Regions from separate parts of the Homo sapiens genome. Here region 2 is linked to region 1. The links are contacts of gene promoters, found by promoter capture Hi-C in human tissues and cell types (Jung and others, 2019). All regions are on one chromosome and are shown on one strand. The core of a region is centred on a gene start or on the middle of the fragment in contact, and the rest is flanking DNA. Distances in the headings are between cores, read along the strand shown.

Region 1 (4,860 bases), core at 1,518-4,017:
TACCACCAAGTCTACCTACTGCCTGCACATGCTATGGCTACCTGGAGGGAGCTTATTCATAAATTTACTTCTCACGTACTTCAATAGACAACTTTTTTTTGTTTGTTTTCCATTTCTGGGTTTCAGTCATGCAACACAGATTATTACTACACAGACTAGAAAATGTAGAGGTTGAAAACCATCCGCCTATCTCCCTTCTTTTTATGGACAAAGGACGCCTGGTCTATAGTGCAGGAATCATTTGCTAACATAAGACAGGCCCTTAATTCTGGTTTAGTGCTCTATCCACCAGACACTGTCCCTCCACGGACCTGGCCACTCTCCAAAGCTCCTGCCCTACACATGGTGCCATCATGGAAATACCCTTGCCAGCATTCATTCATCTCAGATCCAAAAGACAATTTGTGAAAACTACAAATTAATGTTTGTTTGCTTTTTAGAACTTTGCCTATATATATTTGTTGGGAACTTAGGCTAGTGGAAAACACAAATCTTCTATAAATTATAAGGAAGAACTTAAGTCCTGAGCCTTCTGAGTTCAAGAAAAAGAATGAATTATCTTCTTCTCATTAATTTTCATGTCTGTACTAAAGTCATAGCCAGAGAAATTATTGGAGATATTTTTAGCTGTCAAACATAGGTGAGCCCTGTGCAAACATCTCTTGGGCAGCCTCCCCCAAACTCTACAGGCTGCCATGCATCTTCACTTAGTTTATCACAATGGCAGAAAATAATTTCATCTCATGATTTTTAAAATTTACTTATAGCAAGTTGTCATTGAAGGGTAAGAGGAAAAAAAAGATGTCGCAAAGTTTAAATTGTTCGTTCTCAAAGACAGCCCTGAAAAGGTTCTTTCTCTTCACTACTTTCCAAGACGCCCATAGGGAAGAGCAGGTAACAGTGAAGACCAGCACTCCTCAGTTCCCCAGTGAAAAGCAAAAAGAGCTCGAGGTCAATCCGGCACTACTGGTTGTCCAAAGGGAGGTTACTTCCTGTAGTGTCATCAGAGGCAAATAAACTATAGACTCTAGTTACAATCTAGTCCAATTTCCCCAGTTTAAAAACCTGAAGCTCTCAAAACAATTTAAATAAAATTTAGCCAAATAAAGATCTTTGTTGCTAAGTGAATGCCAAAGTGCTACAAGATCCTGTGGAGAAGTTCTCACCACTTCAGCACAGGCCTCCAGGAAAGTGCAGGGAGTCTTCCTTTCTGTTCCAGTAACACAGCAGCGCCTACCTAGGGCTGCAGGTGGACTGGTCAGCTCCAATCAAACATCAGGACCGCCCACAGCACAGGTCAATGAACTCAGGAACTAGGGCTCTCAAGCTGTTTTCAGCTCAGGAAAGAATACTAGGGGTGTAAAACTGCTTTCTGGCAGCATTTTGGATTTCTCCTGTTTTCACAATAATAAGCCAAATGGGACATATTAATTTGCAGAATTGCCTTTCCAGGCAGCCAGACGCAGCAGACTCCTAAGGGCCTGGACCAGCAGGTGCCTGGATTGGTACCTTCTGCTCTTCAGCAGCGGGGGCTCAACTCACAAGCCTCTGCGTCAGTCTCTTGGGTCCCTTTCACACTGTAGCTCAAAATCGCACTCAATTCTAAGCAGCTGTAACTGGCCATCGCCCAGCTCGGTCACACTCACCAAGATTCACAGCCCCGCACACGGCCAGCCCCGCCCCCAGCCTTCTGGGCACACACCTCGGGTCCGGCTCTGCTCCTGGCTGGGGGTCTCCTTGGCCTTCTTACAGGTGTACAGCCACTTGATGATGCGGGCGTTCCTCTCGATGACCGAAGTGGTGCTGGGCACCTGCTCTATCAGCTCCTCCTCCTGCAGCCCCTCGTCGTCGCCGCCGCTGTGCCGGGAGAAGCCGCTGCCGGAGGTGGCGACGCTCACGCTGCGCACCTTGAGGGTCACACAGTCCGACCCCGCGGTGAAGTTCTCCCTCCCCAGGGCCTCCACCACCTCGGGGTCCAGGCCGCAGTACTGGAAGAAGGTGTCAGACTCGGCCAAGGCAGCGGAATAGCGGGAGCTGAGGTCCGACTGTGAGCGCTGCAGCCCCCGACGCCTCACCACCCGCGGCTCTGGCCCAGGGGGCGCGGCCGGGACACTGGAGGGCGCCGCGGACCGCGCGGCTGGGGCTGGGGTCTCGGGGATTGCGGGGTCCGCCGCGGGGCCAGGAGTGGTCGGGACCGTCTCCGGGTTCCCGGCCTTGCCCTCGTCTCCCGTCCGGGGCACCGGCGCCTTGTCCTTACCCGGCCCCTGGAAGAGCTTCTTCACCAGGCTTGCCCTGGGGCCGTCGGCGCCCGATCCTCGCACGAATTCGCATTTCTGCCGGTAGATGATCAGCGAGTCCGGTCTCAACGGCTTCCGCGCAATAGCCCTGCGCGCCACCGGGGCCGGGGCGCGGGCCGGGGGCCCAGGGTCGTTCCCCGGGCACTTGATCGCCCCCGGGCCGCTGCCCTCGGAAGCGACGCCCCGGCCAGTCCCCGGCCGACCCCGCACATACTTGGCGCGATCCGCCGCCAGCCTCTCCACTGCGCTCCTGCGCGCCGGCCGCGCGGCGTCGGGGTCCCGGGTAGCCGCGGGGTCCCGGGGAAGGAGCCGCTCGTTCGGGGGCGCGCTCAGGGCCGCCAGGGCGCGCATCTTCGCGGGGAATGGACCGACCGGGGTTCCGGGTCCAGCGGAGACGCGCTCGAGTGGTAGAGCCAGTCAGTCCCAGGGCCGGTTCCGAAGTCCGCGCCGGGTGGGGAACGGCGCCCCAGTGCCCAGCTGCCCAGGCCCGGGGTTGGGGAGAACCGGAGTCTGCACCGATTGGCGAAACTCCCCAGTTCCCGCCCCTCCCGACCTCATCGCCCACACCGACTGGCACCGCCCCCGCCCCCGCCCGGTGCCCCGGCCCTGGCCGCGTCCCCGCATCCCCGCTCGTCCCCGCCCGTCCCCGCCTCCTCACTCCCGCCCGGGCCCGCCTCCCTGGCCGCTCTCCGGGTGCCAGCGCCCGCCCTCACCTCGCGTCCGGGGTCCCGGCCCTCACCTCCTGCCCGGTGCCGTCCCCGCCCCCCCTCACCTTCCGGCGGCGCTGCCAACCGCCTGGAGGACGCTGGGGCGAGCAGGCTCTGAACCCCCACTCGCTCAGCCCCAGATCCCCGAGGTCACTGCTGGACGCAGGCATTTCCGGGGAGGGGGAGCAGAGGGGACGTCCCCCCACCTCCCCCGGGCAGGTGCCTCACATCCTTTGAATTCTTAAAGTGACCTCATCGTGTTTGGAAACTTGACTGTTTAATTTTGTCTACCTGAGCTCATATTCTTATTAACAGAAAGGAATAGGACATAAGAGGAAAGAACACGCAGCGCACGCCAGGATCAGCCTACGTGTTGGGTGGCAAGAACGCAGGGCCTCGGATTGGGTCCGACTCGGTCGCTGGCCGGCAGCGGGCGTGGCCGGGCCCGAGGACCGAGCTAGGACTCTCAGTGGGGCAGGCTGGGGCCCCAGGCGCGGCTCAGTGGATTTGGAAGAAGCCCAGCCAAGTGTCCAGAATCATTGCTATTTTTACGGTAACCGAGGCAACGGGGAAACCACGAGTTCACCAGGCAGTGGATCAGCCTAGGAATGCTAAGAGTCTAAGATAAAATACTTCCCAAACTCCATTATTTCAAAAATTTGGACAAAATACTAAAGTTATCTCTCAGACATGTGAAATGTTCACGTTATCGCGTTGTGAAGACAACTCCGTAACAGGCTGTGCTTTCAGCCTTGTGGTTGAACGCTCCGAGCAGCAGCAGCCCGGAAGGCAGGGAGGGCGACAGGTGCAGATGGGCCCCCAAAGTGGGCACGAACACCTCACCAACGAGGAAGAGGACCGCAGCAGGGTGGTGCTGAGTGGGCCTTGGGGGTCTTTAATCTCCTTGAGCCCCAGCGAAGCAAAATTTCATAGGGATAGTAGCACAACAATAAATCGCCTCCTGAAAGCCAGACCGCCCAGACAGCCTCGTTGGAACATGTAAGACTCATAGGAAAAGGAGTCTAGGCCAATAAAGTAGAGAGTGGGAGAAGAGAAGGAAGGATGCGGGGGTGGGGAGTGAAAGAGAGGGACAGAGATGGAGAAAGGGGGAGCTCCTGGGTTGCCACAGATGGTTTCCTACAGGATGCGGGAGGATGGGGCCTTGAGGTCTAAAGTCCAGCCTGCTCTCTGCTTGGCAAGCCTGTTCCCTAAGTCAGAGGAAAAAACCTTTTTAATTGTGTAGCCCAAAGTGTCTTCTTTTCCTAATTTGCACTACTTCATGGGCAACAGCAGCACTTCTAAGACAGAGAACTGCAAAGTACAGGACCTCTGGAATTTGACCCTGGGTCCACAATTTACCTTTGGACAGGTAACAAACGTTCCAGGTTGTTTTGTCACCTGTAAAAATTTCTGTTTTAAATTTACAAGAAAAGACAATCCCATTAAAAAGCGGACAAAGGACATGAACAGACACTTCTCAAAGGAAGACATTTATGTGGCCAACAAACATATGAAAAAAGCTCAACATCATAGATCATTAGAGAGATGCAAATCAAAGCCAATGAAATACCATCTCACGCAAGTCAGAATGGCTGTTATAAAAAGTCAAGAAACAACAGATGCTAGAGAGGCTGCAGACAAATAGGAACGTTTTCACACATTGATGGGAATGTAAATTAGTTCAACTACTGTGGAAGACAGTGTGACAATTACTCAAAGACCTAGAACCAGAAATATCATTTGACCCAGCAATACCATTACTGAGTATACACCCAAAGAAATACAAATTATTGTCTTATGAAGATACATGCACACATATGTTCACTGCAGCACTACTCACAATGGCAAAGATGTAG
Region 2 (4,860 bases), core at 1,186-3,685, 38 kb after region 1:
TGTGTACCCACATTCTTTGACCCACTAATTTTAATTAATTTGGTAGTCTTGATTCAAGTACATTTGACAAGGGAAGACAAAGACAAGAATGTCTTTATCAATATGAACTATCACTACCATTTTGGAATATTGGTCTATTTCTCATCTTTTTTCTCCCTCACACTATTAATGTCTAAATAGGGGACTTGTGTTTCTAGGATTAAAAATAATTCAATTATTGATATCTGTGTATGATCTCAGCCAATAACTTGTCTAAAGGGAATATTTTATTCCTGGGCTAAGAATATATTTCTGTATCCAATGCACATTTTTAAAACATAATTTTCATTAAGAAATATTACACACATGTAAAGAAAGTATGGAAAACATAAATGTATGCTTTAATGAATTATTACATGAACACTAATGTAACTACTATCTAGATCAAGATGTAAAATGTTGTCAGTATGTCTTCTGTCTAACCTCGTCCTGATGTTAATGTCTCCTAGCTAAACATCACCAGGGGCACAAGTTGGGTTTACTATTTGAAAAGAGAGAACAAAGACCAGGTGGAATGGCAGAGCTTTCCAGCCGGAGGGTGTTAGAAAGAACCTATTATAGGATTTGACTTGTGCTTGGTAATTTGGGGTGGGGGGAATCTAAGGAACTAGGACTGTCTTTGGATTGGATCTTCTCAGGAAATAAGAGAAAATTTTTAATTTGATGCCTCAGTAAGTCTTACCGAGAAAGACGAAGGACTAGATCTAGGCTGAACCTGTAACTGGTAAAGATGTAGCCGTCACTCACATTATCCAGGAGAAGGGGATATTTGCAGTTCTGTGGCTTGGAAAATGTTCATATTTTGTCTGTGTTCAGATGTGATTGTTGGGGAATCTTGTTTTTGCCTTATTCCATGACTGATGTTGTCTGATGCTGTCTGATGCTGATGTTCTCTGACTTGTTTGTCTTCAACAGGAGAGCACCAAGGGCTTACTCAAGGTACAAGGCCAGCCCCTGACCATAAGGGCAGAAGAGGGTACCATATCCCCTTCCCATGCCCCCCTTCCTGAGAGTAGGGATGGACTAGCAACCACTGTGTCATTTAAATGTACCTTTTGTAATGACAAGAATTAAGGTATTGAAATTGTCTACTTGATAGGGATAGGTAAGTTTTTTTAATCTCATGTTCACATTGAGGTTTTTTTTTCTCCTCCAGATCAACATCAAAACAATTCTTCTTTTTCCTCAATTGTTTAATTAACTTCTGAAGAAGGCATTTAAGGATTAAATAATTAGATGACAATCACAACCTCTCTGGGGCATATGTCTTTATTTTCTTAATAATTCTTTATCTATAACTTTAAAAAGCCCTGACTATGACTTGTGTAGTTATGTTGTGGTCTTTAATCTTTCTCCAACCTCAAATCCATGCCAAGTGTATCTAACCTGTAATGAAGTAAGGGGAAATGGTGTGTGGTATACATTTTCAATAATCAGCTAATGACTAGCAGCAGGAAAACTGCACCAAAAACATATAAAACATGTCTTCTTTATTTCACCACATAGCTCCCAGGGTCAAGAAACTTGCAATATTCTCCTGACTTTGGCATAACTTGCTGTGGAATATTGGGTTTGATTCTAGCATCTGTAATATGGGGGTAAGAGGATTTCTGGGGATAAGTGAAGCAAGACAGATAACATGCTCTGAGTTCTTAAAAAACTGCTTAATGTTTTACAAAATTTTTCTAATTTTCATTTGCACATTTTATCCATATCATAGACTTGTATAGCAGTTATTATTTTAAGTAAGATGAGAATATTCAACCACACAGAGGTTTGCAATCAGCACATATAGCTTATCTTAGAGTCAGAAACTCCATCTTCTTTTTTTTCACTTGAAACATTTATATTCTTACCATTCTGCCACTGAATTTTTCAGCTTGGCTCTTCAGGGCTGTTCTCTTAAAGAAACTTTTGCTAATTTTTCTTTAAGAGTCTCATTTGCATGCAATCAAAGCACTATGCTAAGAAAGCAAGAAAAACAAAAGCATCTACCTCTGTTGGCATCAGGGCTGTGGCTTTCAGTTCAAGAATTACTGCAGTGTTGAAAATGAGCTCATGGATGAACAGCTCTGCATGGATTCAAATGTGGCTGTTTCCTGGCACCTGCTTCCCAAGTCATTGCAGGCTGTAATTCGTAGTTACTAAGCACCATGTGGGCATTACCAGCATTTCCGATATGCAGTGCCACCTGCTTTCCTGTTAGTAGTTACTAGTATTTTGGGACACTCTGAGGAAATCTGAAGTGGTAAATCAGTGGGCACTCATCAATAAAAGAGAAAAATGTGCATATATTCCAACCACTGCCCTCAGAAAACATTCATTGTCGTACAGACTCCCTGAGCCTGCTCCAGGCACTTACACAAAGTAGACTGTATTTTTTCCTCTTTCTATTTTATCTAGAGGTAGATATTATCAGAGATATTATAGAAGTACAGAGAAAAAGGCAAAACAACAGGTAACAATAGATGCATGACAACCATTATTCAGGAATAGAAAGAACTATTGGCAAGGGTAAAAGTAACTGACAAGGGTAAGTTTCTTGACTTAAAAAAATCAATGACACAAGAAAGAACATGAGGTCTTACAGCCAAAGAGCTGAGCTTAAGAACCACACTGTGCTCATTAGATGAGACCTGGGCTGATTGTCTCACTCCTCAAAGTGCCCTTTTCTCATCTGTAGAATGGCAATTCTAACACCTCTTCTACCAACTTTCTTGGGACCCCTAATATTTTGTTTAGTTGCCCCTTGCCAACATTAGTAATAAAGTTTATCTGTAAAATGAAAGAACTAAATTAAATAATTGCTAGGTCTTCTTCCAAACTCTAGAATTGAAAAAAATATGGCTTTCTGTTTTCCCCATTCTCTGAGTACCTAGTTCACATCATAAGATCACATAAGGCACTGACAATCACCAGGGTTTGGAACAGCTAGTATGTTCCGGGCCCTTCATGGTGTTATCACTGTCTTCATTTTACCTCCTTTCCCAGAAAACATACATACTTCATTAGTTTAAGAGTATTTACATATTGTTTTGTCAAACACTAATTAGGCACCTAATATGTACTAGGCACTATGTATTAAATACGAATATTTCAGATTTACAAATGAAGAAGCTTACATTAAACAGCAACAGATTAAATAGCCAGTTAGTTCCTGAAGCAGGATTCAAACTGAGGTCTGTTATTCCAAAGGTTATATTCTACCACGATGCTATTTCTTCAAAGATTTCATCTGATAAAAATGGAATGTCTTTAAATTTTCAAACGTTTCTACTGAACAGAATCTTGGGGGAATACACATTGTCTGGTCATGAGTACCACGGCCTAAAAAGGTTTTTGCTGATGAGTGAGAAATATGAAGAACATCTCTTCTGATCCATAATATCTAAGTTGCAGGTGTCCTGCACTGCTACTGTAGCCAAAAAACACTACAACCTGGGCAGCTATCGTTTAATGGAAAGATCAAGGCTTGAAGTAAAAAATTAGGGCCCTGACCCTTACTCTGTCCAATACAGCTTATTCCTTTAAACAAATTTTTTAACTTCTCAGAATTTGGTTCTACTATCTTTAGAACAGATGACAAACTATTGTACGCCTACCTCACAAAGACATGTGAAAGCATATTGTAAAACGTAATGCTCTGTGAGTATAAAGAATTACTAATCACAGTGGAAGAAGGCATTTCAAGTACTGATTAACTAAAGCTGAGCTTGATGTTATGACTTGAAGCCTCGAAGCAAGAAAGATTGCTCAGTGAGTGGGCAGAGAAAGAATGTCACAGAGTTCCCATCACCTGGGTTTGGATGCCCAAGGAAGGAGCCCGGTAGTGGAGCAGAAAGTACCAGATGTACCAGAAGATACCAGACAAGGCTAATGGTTAGGTTCATGAATAGAATTAGCCTGAGGAAGGGGACAGTAGCTCACAGGCCAAATGCCTGGGCAGTCATTGACAAACTACCAACCCCAAACTGTAACTTGAGGAAGAGTTGGGTCACCAAAGCCAGGGCCCAGCAGAGGGAAATTGTGGGGAAACCCAAATCAACAGGAACAGGTCCCAAAGCAGCCGATGTGTAAGGTAAAATATAGCATTGGAGTGCAGTGGCCCAGGACAGTTCCAGTGGGGAGTACCTGGGTTCCAGCCTATAGCTCTATTACATATTCCGTGGGTCATTTGCCTTTGTATTGTATTCAGTTTCAGCCACTTTGCTCACAAGTTGCTCTGTGAGAGGCAGGGCTAAAGGCCAAGTTGATAAAATGAATGAGCAGAGCAATGTGAAATGAGTGTGCTCATCTGAGAAAGATTTTCAAGTAGAGAGACCTTGAAATCCAAGGCTACTTGGATTTAAGGGAGCCAAGAAGCAAGAAAAATCACATACTTAATTGTGATTAAATGTATTATTTTAGAAGCTGGGGAAACTTAAGCCACAACATAGCAATTAACATTCTTTATCTGACACCAAAACAATCTGAAAATTCTTGCGTCTTAAAATGATGTTGGCAACTGCTGGCTTTTGGAAAAGGTGAGCAGGCATATGTGTTTTCTATCATCTTCACCCCTTTTATTAGTGATAACAAACAGTTTCTTCTTGAAGCCAAATGATTTATTTTATATTTGTGTTAATTATAGAACAGAAAGCCTAAATTCTGCAGGATATTTCCTATGTGTACAGGATGAAGACATCTCTATATGAACATCTGTGGCTAAATATTGCATCTTCAGATAAAAAATTCTACAGTTGTATGAAAAGAAAGAATTTAAACATTTTTATGAAGTTAAAATACTTATTAAACATGCATATGTTTTCAGGCTATTTTCTA

The links. The method cuts DNA at HindIII sites, captures the fragments that hold promoters and counts their contacts. A contact is called where the count stands out against the background at its distance.
Region 2: a fragment that was not itself captured here is called in contact with the fragment with the promoter of FAM110C in region 1 in 1 of the 25 tissues and cell types used here (H1 embryonic stem cells).

The regions. Positions count from the first base shown.
Region 1 is chr2:43,738-48,597 of GRCh38, forward strand. FAM110C (family with sequence similarity 110 member C) reads right to left here and starts at 2,768. Exons shown (of 2, transcript NM_001077710.3): 1 at 1,703-2,768. The coding sequence starts at 2,648. The HindIII fragment of the contact is 12,024 bases long and covers 1-4,860 here.
Region 2 is chr2:82,174-87,033 of GRCh38, forward strand. No RefSeq gene overlaps it. Among named protein-coding and RNA genes, the nearest start is that of FAM110C, 38 kb to the left of the region's middle. The HindIII fragment of the contact is 9,190 bases long and covers 1-4,860 here.